Linked DNA regions of Homo sapiens: region 1 is linked to region 2. The links are contacts of gene promoters, found by promoter capture Hi-C in blood cells and fetal thymus (Javierre and others, 2016). All regions are on one chromosome and are shown on one strand. The core of a region is centred on a gene start or on the middle of the fragment in contact, and the rest is flanking DNA. Distances in the headings are between cores, read along the strand shown. Region 1 has its middle 71 kb from the start of WASF3. Region 2 holds the start of RNF6 (ring finger protein 6).

Region 1 (4,456 bases), core at 92-2,591, 270 kb before region 2:
CTGGGGCATATGCTTATTGCGGGGAAGGGCTGGCAGAATCACACACTTTATTTACATTGTTTTTCGTTTAAAGTTTTCTTTGAGCACCTACAGTTGAATTCGCTTAAGCTAAATGTGGATGTAATGGGACCAATTGAGAAAAGGCGATTGGGAGGCCACTGGAAGTGTGACACCCTTGCCAGAGGAGGTGAGACTTAGGACGGGAAGATGCCGCAGGCGCCCCTTTCTCCAAGGCGCTGAGCATTCCAGAGGGGCCAGCCACGGGGTCCAGTATTTGTGTGAATGCTGAAGCAAGAGGGAGAGTCCCACCTGACTTCTCCCCCATCCTCTGCAGAAGACCCCACCCCATGAGAACCCTCTAGTGGCCTTGCAAGGAGGGAGAGGAGGCAGGGTCCCTTCAGAAAAGGTCTCAGGGCCCTGCCTCTGCATCCTCTATATGGCCTCCTTCCCTGGAGACCTCACAGGAGACTTAGCCCTCGTTCTCTTCCTAAAGTCAAACCAGAGGCACTGCATGGAGGTCCGGGTGGAGCGTCGCCCTCATCAGTTCTGTCCTGGGCCCTGGAAGGAGCTGGGCCACCTGTGCGGTTTACGGGGGCCTGTCATCACTGCTCCCTGCTTGTCTTCTGACCTTCCCCCTCTGACAAGCCTGTTCCCTCCCAGCCCACGCCTGGAGTCGCCTGCTGGCCTGGCCAGCCTTGTCTGACTTTTTTGCTGAAGAAGGGGATCGGGCTAGATTCCAGCGGCTGGCTGGCTTCCCAGGTTGTGGCAGGCCTTGCCCACTTGGGGGACATCTTGCCTTGTTTGCCCATTGGGGCCATCGTGTAGACAGACCCTTGCTTGGCTTTGTAGCTCCAACCAAGGATCTGAAGGTGGACTTCCGGAAACACATTCCTGCCCAGCTAAGGCGCCAGAGGTCCTGCAGGTGGAGGGAGACTCCTGGGATGGCCAAGGATGCTCACCGTTCCACGAAGCTTGCTGAATAGTTATGACACTCTTGGGGCTTACCTCTCTAGGCTAACCACCCTACAACACGTGCTCACAAAGAGAGAGAGGTTTTCTGCTTTATGGCTGCTCCAACCTCGTGTGGTCTCGTGTCCCTTCCTGTTCTTGCAGGATCGCTGCACTGACCTCCGCATGAGAGGAGAGGGCAGAATGTGGCCCACCTCTCATCCTGAGGAAGCAGGGGCCGTCCACGGCCTCCCCACTGTCCGATCACTCCAGGTGGCATAGACCCTTTCTTGTGCTTGTTTGTATGTGATTTTCATGTTTTCGTGCCTGACAAGGGGAAGTGGTTAGTATACAAGTGGCACATCAACACCATTCTGGTCATTCTTTCTAAATGGAATTTTCCAACAATTTTTATTTCCAGAAGTCCCATGGATCCAAACAGACAAACAACAGAAGAGCAAAGGGAAATAAATGGTTATGAGTGTTCATCATAGAAGCACAAAGAGCAAAGCTCCTTGCAAAGTCCTTGAGGCCTCCTGCCTCAGACCTTCCCTGGTTCTCTGTCCCCAGGCATCATCAGCTGATGCAGAAGGGACTCTGCCTATCTTTAGACAGAGAGAAATCAGGATCAGGGCTCTGCCACCTTCTCTGCTAAGTCCACTAACCTCCTGCTATTCACTTCATCTCTCTTTGGCCTGTGTCTCATGTTTTATTAAATTTTATTAAATGTCCTTTCTGGTTCCCATCACCTCTGGAAGCTTGCTTTTGTCTGGCCACCACCAGAACAAGCCAGGGAGGGAGGCACCTTGTTCCCACAGTGGCACCAGGTATCTGTTAAATGAATGAATTCAAGTGTGCCGCCTGCCCTGGTTAATAGTCACCACGCTGGGGAGGAGCACCAGCACCTCGGTCCTCATAGATTAAGATTGTGGCTAAGAGGATGGAAGCTGTGTAAAGCAGAGCCAGAGCACAGTTGGCTGCAGCTAGAGATCCCTGTCCCTGGCCCGCACTCCCAGCCTGCACTCCCTCCCCATCCTCTCGTCTGGGACACACACATCTTGCCTGTCTCTTACAAGCCAGAGCCAAAAAAGAAAGCAGATATTAACCCAACTAAGAAACTAAAAGGAACAGCAACAAGTAAAGAGATTAAGACGAACAAAATGTGAGAAGGAGATATAAAAGGGTAGTAATTTGTTTTTACGAATAAATGTATTCAGGTAAGTAAAAATTAAGATGTGGATGATAAAAGGGTGTCAGCTTCAGGAAACTAAAATGATTTATAAGTCACACTAAAAGGAATGAGGAAAATTTTAAAGATAGAAGACAAAACGTTAAGGGAAAAATTCTAGACAACAACAGGAAGGAAATTAAGGTGGTTAAAAATGGATCAAGTTGTAAACTAGAGGCCTCAGATCTTAAAGAATTAGAAAGCTGAGTAAAGTAAGCAACTTTCTATGTAAACTAATAAAATATTTTTAAACAGTGCAGAAAACGAAGGCTCTTAAGGCTATTAACCCGGGCAGGCAACACACATGGAAGGTCACTGCAAATAAGATGCCAATACTTTAGAAGCCAGCAGTGGGGGTTCCTGGAGTCTCCTCAGGCAGAGGTCACTGTGGTGAAGGGTCCCTAGCAGGCCTCGGCAGGGCCCAGGTCGCCGACTGTCCACCTTGCCTCGGGCAGCCGGTCCCTGTTCTCTCTGTTCCTTCTGAAGTGCTGGTGAGGTCTGAGGGCCCTGGCCTTTGAAAAGTGCTGCCTTTCCTGAGTCTGGCTCAAGCCTCAGAGCGCGTGAGACTCATGCTGGGAGTGAGAGCCTCTCCCCCTCCCGTGACATCCCCTGCTCCCTCCCACTGTGGCACAGGATGGATGATCACATGTGGGTTTCTGCACACTCCTCGTTTTGGGGCACAAACAAGGTAAAAGGCCCTTTTGGGCTCCAGAAAAGAGTAACAGCGAAAAGACAGATGACAGAGGACAGAAATAACGTTTAGGTATGAATATTTCAAGCTACTTACAAAAGCTAGCTCACTCAGTTGGCAATAGCAGTGTGTCCATTGTACAGGGGGAAACCCTGAGGCCTGTGACCCGTTTCCCATCCCCTTTAGCCGCCACAGTACCGCACACTGTGCTGGTTTCAGCGCTTTCGCATCTGATTCTCAGTTCTTTCTGTTTTTCATTGAAGCCATATTTGTTTTCTCTTCAGCCTGCTGATTTCTGGCCCGTCGTCAATTCTGACTGGTGCCCAGCTTCCCTCTTGATATGTGTGTGTTACACAGACTCTCTGTATCCCAAACAATAGAGGGATGAAATCTCCAGCATGAGATTTTAAGTGCTGCTTCCATTTTGTCCACTAAACAGTAAGAAAGCCACACAGGTTCCTGACAAACAAAGACTTCCATGGCTTTCCCAGGAGAAGGGTCATCTCCATAGATGTGACTGCATGATTGTGACATTAATAACAGCCCTTTCCATGAGCAGGCACAAAGACACTAAGTCCCTAGTTCCCTGATGATTTTTCTTTTTTTCTTTTTTTCTTTTTTTTTTTTTTTTTGAGCCGGAGTCTCACTCTGCTGCCCAGGCTGGAGTACAGTGGCGCGATCACGGCTCACTGCAAGCTCCACCTCCCAGGTTCACGCCATTCTCCTGCCTCTGCCTCTGGAGTAGCTGGGACTACAGGTGCCTGCAACCATGCCTGGCTAATTTTTTGTATTTTTAGTAGAGACGGGGTTTCACCATGTTAGCCAGGATGGTCTCCATCTCCTGACTTCGTGATCTGCCCGCCTTGGCCTCCCAAAGTGCTGGGATTACAGGCGTGAGCCACCACACCCGGCCCCCTGATGATTTTTCAAGAGGCAAAGTACATACCTTCCCAGCAGAGAGGAGAGAAACCACTAAGTCAATCCACGGGGCTACATACATCATCAGTGCCTTGGCAGATACTCGCGGCCTTCTAGACCATGGCTCCTGCCCTATGGAGCCTGTCATTGGATCAGGTAGATCACACAAGGTGGCTGACCAGGCAGGTGTCATTAACTGCCCAGTGGGTGCAGAGATGCTGAAGCAATGAGTCCAGAGGCAGATCGGGACTCACCTGTGACCACGGGCACAGGTGCCTGAACGCCTGCTCCTCATTCATAAACCAGAATTCATCATGACACCCCCCTCTGAGGGGACGCACACCTGTTCACGGGGCTCATCTATGTCAAGCATGACTGGTACATGGTATTCACCCAATGAAGGAGGAGCGTGCAGAAACCCACGTGTGATCATCCATACTGTGCCCCAGTGGGAGGGAGCAGAGGGTGTCACGGGAGGGGAGAGGCTCTCACTCCCAGTATGGGTTTTGCAAGCTCTGAGGCTTGAGCCAGACTCAGGAAAAGCAGCACTTTTCGAAGGCCCAGACCCTCAGACCTCACCAGCACTTGAGAAGGAGCAGAGAGAACACAGACCAGCTGCCTGAGGTGAGGTGGACAGCCAGGGACCTGAGCCCTGCTGAGGCCTGCTAGGG
Region 2 (4,435 bases), core at 294-2,793:
AAATGAATTAGACCATTTGATCACACTTAAGCAGTTCAGACTCTAGGTAGTAAAGACCTAAAAACAGAAAATCATCTTAAGTATTTGCTCAATGGCTCTTTTTCCATGGGAAAAGAGGGCAAGGACTTCATTCTATGAGGACATGACTGTCTGATTCACGGCTGTCATCACCAGCACCTAATACATAGTCACACTCACTATTTGTTAAATACATGAATACATGCTAAAATAGGGTTTTATATATAGAGGGAGTATGGGAGCCCCCAAAAGGGACATTTGCTTAGTTTTATGTGTAAATATCGGGCTGGAGGGTGAGGTAAGGGTGTTATTTCAGAGGTATCAGGAAAAATTCCTTAAAGATGAGAACTGAGCTGAGTTTTGGGAGACAGAGGAAATTAGGTAAAAGTGGAGTTGGGGGTTGCTTAGGAGTTCCCATATCTTGTGGCGGAACTTCAAGCAGTTTCGGAGTGCCAAGACAACAGCCTGTAAATGTAAGCAGAAGAAAGATCTGGAAGGGCTTTCTAGGCTGTTTTATATATTTCCATTTTAGTATCCATATCCATATGCTTATTTTAAACACTTGTCCATAGATCCTTACTACACTGGTAGCTCATTGATGCTAAGGACTGCATGTAGCTTGTTATCCAGGTGCCCAGCATAATAATGGGGATATGGTAGTTCCTCAAAAGTTAATGCAGAAATGAAAGAACAAACGGAAGAATAACAAGTAACGGCATTGTGAGCACTCTCCAGTGATGAAGTCATCAGATGGTAGGGATGTCAGGAAAGGGGACTATACCAGGTTAGACAGAGACCTACTCAGCATCTTAACTAACGGTGAGGTAAGTTTAGTAAGCCTCACATCTCAGAAATAAAATCAGAGGGAGGAATGTTGGGAGTTTCAAACTGCTTTCCTAGCGGGAAGGTGAAAAAACACAAAATATAGTGGGGTGCGGTGCCTCATGCCTGTAATCCCATTTTGCTGAGGTGAGAGGATTGCTTGAGGCCGAGTACGAAACCAGCCTGGGCAACATAGCGAGACCCCCGTCTCTACAAAAGAAAAAATGTGAAATTAATGGCAAGCGCCTGTAGTTCCAGCTACTGGGATGAGGAGGGAGGATCGCTGGAGGCTGCAGTGAGCTACGATCGCTCTAGCCTGGGCGACAGGATGAGACCTTGTCTCAAATAGAGATAGACAGACAGACAGACTTCAGAATTTATTAGGGTTTGTAATTTCCAGGTTCCAAAGCACAGCAAGGGAAAGGGCCTGGCTGGGTAGTACGTTACACCCGGAAGTAAAGAGACGCATACACCGTTGGGTGCACTTTATAGTCTGGCTGGCAAACGAGCGACACCGACGCGCAGAGTTAAGTGCTGGGACTTCCCAAGCCTGGAAAGCAGACCGTGTCTCTGCAACTACGCGGCTGCCACGAGCGCTGAGCGGCCGGGCATTTGGCCTCGAGGAGGAGGCACTGTAAGGGCGGCGCAAGAGGGCGGAACGCGGGACGCCAGGCACCCTAGCTCCCGACGGACGCAGTTTTCAGTTGCACGGGCGAGCTCCGGGCCGGCTGCGGAGCGACTCCCCGCCGCCAAGTGGGCGGCGTGGCTGTCGGGAAAGAAGGGCTGGGGCCTGCCGTTCTTCCTCCCGAGTATCCCCTCCAGCTGGACGACCCCACGCTGCAGCACGGGCTTCCGGCTTCTCTCCTCAGTGGCCAATTCGAGGGCACAGCGGGCTCCGGAGGCGCGGCGGCAAGCCTATCCCGCCTCCCAACCACAGCCTCCAGCACCCGAGAGAACGGCCGCCCACAGCACACGTTCTCCGGACAGGAGGGCGAAGGCCCAAGACCTGGAGAGGTGGGCTCGAGGGAAAGATCTGGGTCCCACCACTACTTCCTGGAGACGCCGGGGAAAGCAGGCCATCCTTCGAGCCACCCATCTCTTCTCCGATTGGTTAACTGCCTTCTTATTGCGCTCCGCTGGCTGGTGATTGGTTGGGATGCACCGTCTATCACCTGCTTCCTTGTGAGAATCTAGGTCTCTAAGGGAAGCGTTACTTGAGGCTCGGTTGGGAAGAGGTTGGTTGGGCCTCTTGAGCCCACTTTATTTATCGTAGTGGGGATCGTCCCCCGGCGCGAGCTTCCGTCGCAACGGCCGGGAAAGAAACCAGTAGCGGGACGGAGGGCGGGGGTGGCAAGAAAGTCAAGGTTTAGAAGTAAGCCGGAGACGCCTAACCCTGGTAACATCCGAATGGGAACGGGATAGGAAGGAAGGCCTTTGAGAGAGGAGGCGTAAACCCAGGAACAGTGACAGTGTAGGACGAAAGGCCTAAGTTTGTTGCGGAAGGTAGGGGCCTTGCGGGAGGTTTTCGTGACCTAATTGTATGGGGATCTAATTTTCTAGATGTGTCTAACAAAATCCACTGGAGAATTTGCTTTGGCTTTGCAGCAGAGTGGGGAGACTACCACCCGTTCCTGGCCTTTAAAGAAACAGTTTATTGAATTATTCAACTCTCTTTTATTGCTTCAGATGGGCAGCTCTCAAAAAAGGCACAAACAATTGAAGGATGGATACCATGGCATATGTTAAAAGCGTGTTGAAAGGAAAATAAGGTATTCGCTTTGTTTTCATTGTGATTAACTGTATAAGAAAATTACCTTTAAGGAGAAGCTCAAGTTTTAAATAATATTAGGGTAACTTGATTTTATGATAGGCTTCAACTTGTAAAATTATTTATTACAAAAATCCTATTATTGCTGTACCTACGAAATATGCTCTTTGCTAATTATGGTCTTAATCTGAAGATAGAGATCTTGAGTTTTTAGTAGTGTTAATTCATATTTGAGTGGATAATGTTACTAGGTCATTTGTTCAAAATGACATAATAAAATAACCACAGTGAAAAAAATCCTTGAATTTGTAATTTAGTGTTACAGGTGAAATTGAATAGTTGCTTACTCCAACAGTATTTTAGACTTGTAGGCTAATTTCACCTTATATTTAAAGCAGCTTGCTTATTAAATACCTAGTGTATTTCGAGAGGCAGAGTTGCACAGTTGCTTCACTGGTAGCCTAGCCATTTGAGCCTCCAGCCTCTACTGAGTCAGGTGCTGTATTACTCATACCCTTTAGTGACATGCCAGAAATTGTCGAGGAATAGTTTATTTCATCTGCAGAACACCCAAATTAGCTCTTAACAGCAGACCTGGTCCTACCCTGGAAAACTCTAATCAAGGATTGGGGATGAGATTTGGGCATCTAGATTTTTAAAAATACCCTTAAGTGAGTTTGAGAACCATTGCTTTAGTGTGACTTACTGAATAGATGTATTTAAGAAATTCTAAAATATTTGTGAAACAAACATCTTTCTCTCTTGATTTCCATGTAATTTAAAAGTGAGCTTCTCAGGAGTGACACTTAAATATAATCCAAAAATAGTGGTTTCTTAGGCAAAGTCAGGAAGTTTCACTGGCATTCTGAAACTCCTGGGACTAACCATTCCAGGCTTAAGGATGAGGCTTGATATGGGGTGATACAAAGTGCTCTGATGCACTTTCACAATCCTTGAGCCATACATGATGTCTTGTTTCCTGTTGGGTTTCAAAGTCTTCCTGGTAAGCTTTAATAAGAGACCACCTTCCAGTTTGTTCAGTAGATATTAATTAGGCTAAATGATTTTCACCTCATCAAAGTGCAGTGGGGGATAATATTACATTCATGAGCCTTATTTTGGAAAGAATACCTTGCTGAAAACAAATGTAAATTATATCATCCCAGTATCCCTTTGCTCATTAAGTGAAGAATGTGCATAATTCAAGCCTAAAATTTGTAATTAATGTGAAGTACCCAGATCCTGAAACATAAATGAGGACTTCTGGATCAACTTTTCCAGATCGTCAACATGGTCAAAAATGAGATAATCACTATGGTATTCAGGCATGAGCATTGTGTGGTAAACCCAAATCCAGTCTGACTTAATGGCTTTAGGCAAAGAAGTAAGTGCCAATTGTGTTGTATTTCCTAGAAGCTGTTTTTCATTTTATATGTAAGCTTCTCACTGCAAGATTTGGCAAATACAGTATTTGGGTAGGGGACAACATTTAAAAATTAAGAAAAACTGCAAGTTAAAAATACAAAGCCAAATGTGGTCCATGACTTAACACCTTGAATGTTGTTTATATTGTTTGAACAGAAAGCCAGGAATCTCAGGATGAATCAGTCTAGATCGAGATCAGATGGTGGCAGTGAAGAAACCTTACCTCAAGACCATAATCATCATGAAAATGAGAGAAGATGGCAGCAAGAGCGTCTCCACAGAGAAGAGGCCTATTATCAGTTTATTAATGAACTCAATGATGAAGATTATCGGCTTATGAGAGACCATAATCTTTTAGGCACCCCTGGTAAGAGATGGGTAAAAGAGGAAACACCCTTTTTT

The links. Contacts are between HindIII fragments. The CHiCAGO score rates a contact against its expected background, and 5 or more counts as called.
Region 1: a contact is called between a fragment that was not itself captured here and the fragment with the promoter of RNF6 in region 2, in 3 of 17 cell types (total CD8 T cells, naive CD8 T cells and naive CD4 T cells). The highest score is 7.9, in total CD8 T cells.

What each region holds. Positions count from the first base shown.
Region 1 is chr13:26,484,219-26,488,674 of GRCh38, reverse strand. No RefSeq gene overlaps it. Among named protein-coding and RNA genes, the nearest start is that of WASF3, 71 kb to the left of the region's middle. RefSeq lists an enhancer at 2,652-3,163. The HindIII fragment of the contact is 735 bases long and covers 974-1,708 here.
Region 2 is chr13:26,219,422-26,223,856 of GRCh38, reverse strand. It overlaps RNF6 (ring finger protein 6), which reads left to right and starts at 1,543. Exons shown (of 5, transcript NM_005977.4): 1 at 1,543-1,854; 2 at 2,527-2,609; 3 at 4,190-4,400. The coding sequence starts at 4,208. RefSeq lists enhancers at 1,483-1,862, 1,008-1,889, 1,890-2,771 and a silencer at 2,313-2,362. The HindIII fragment of the contact is 7,611 bases long and covers 1-3,618 here.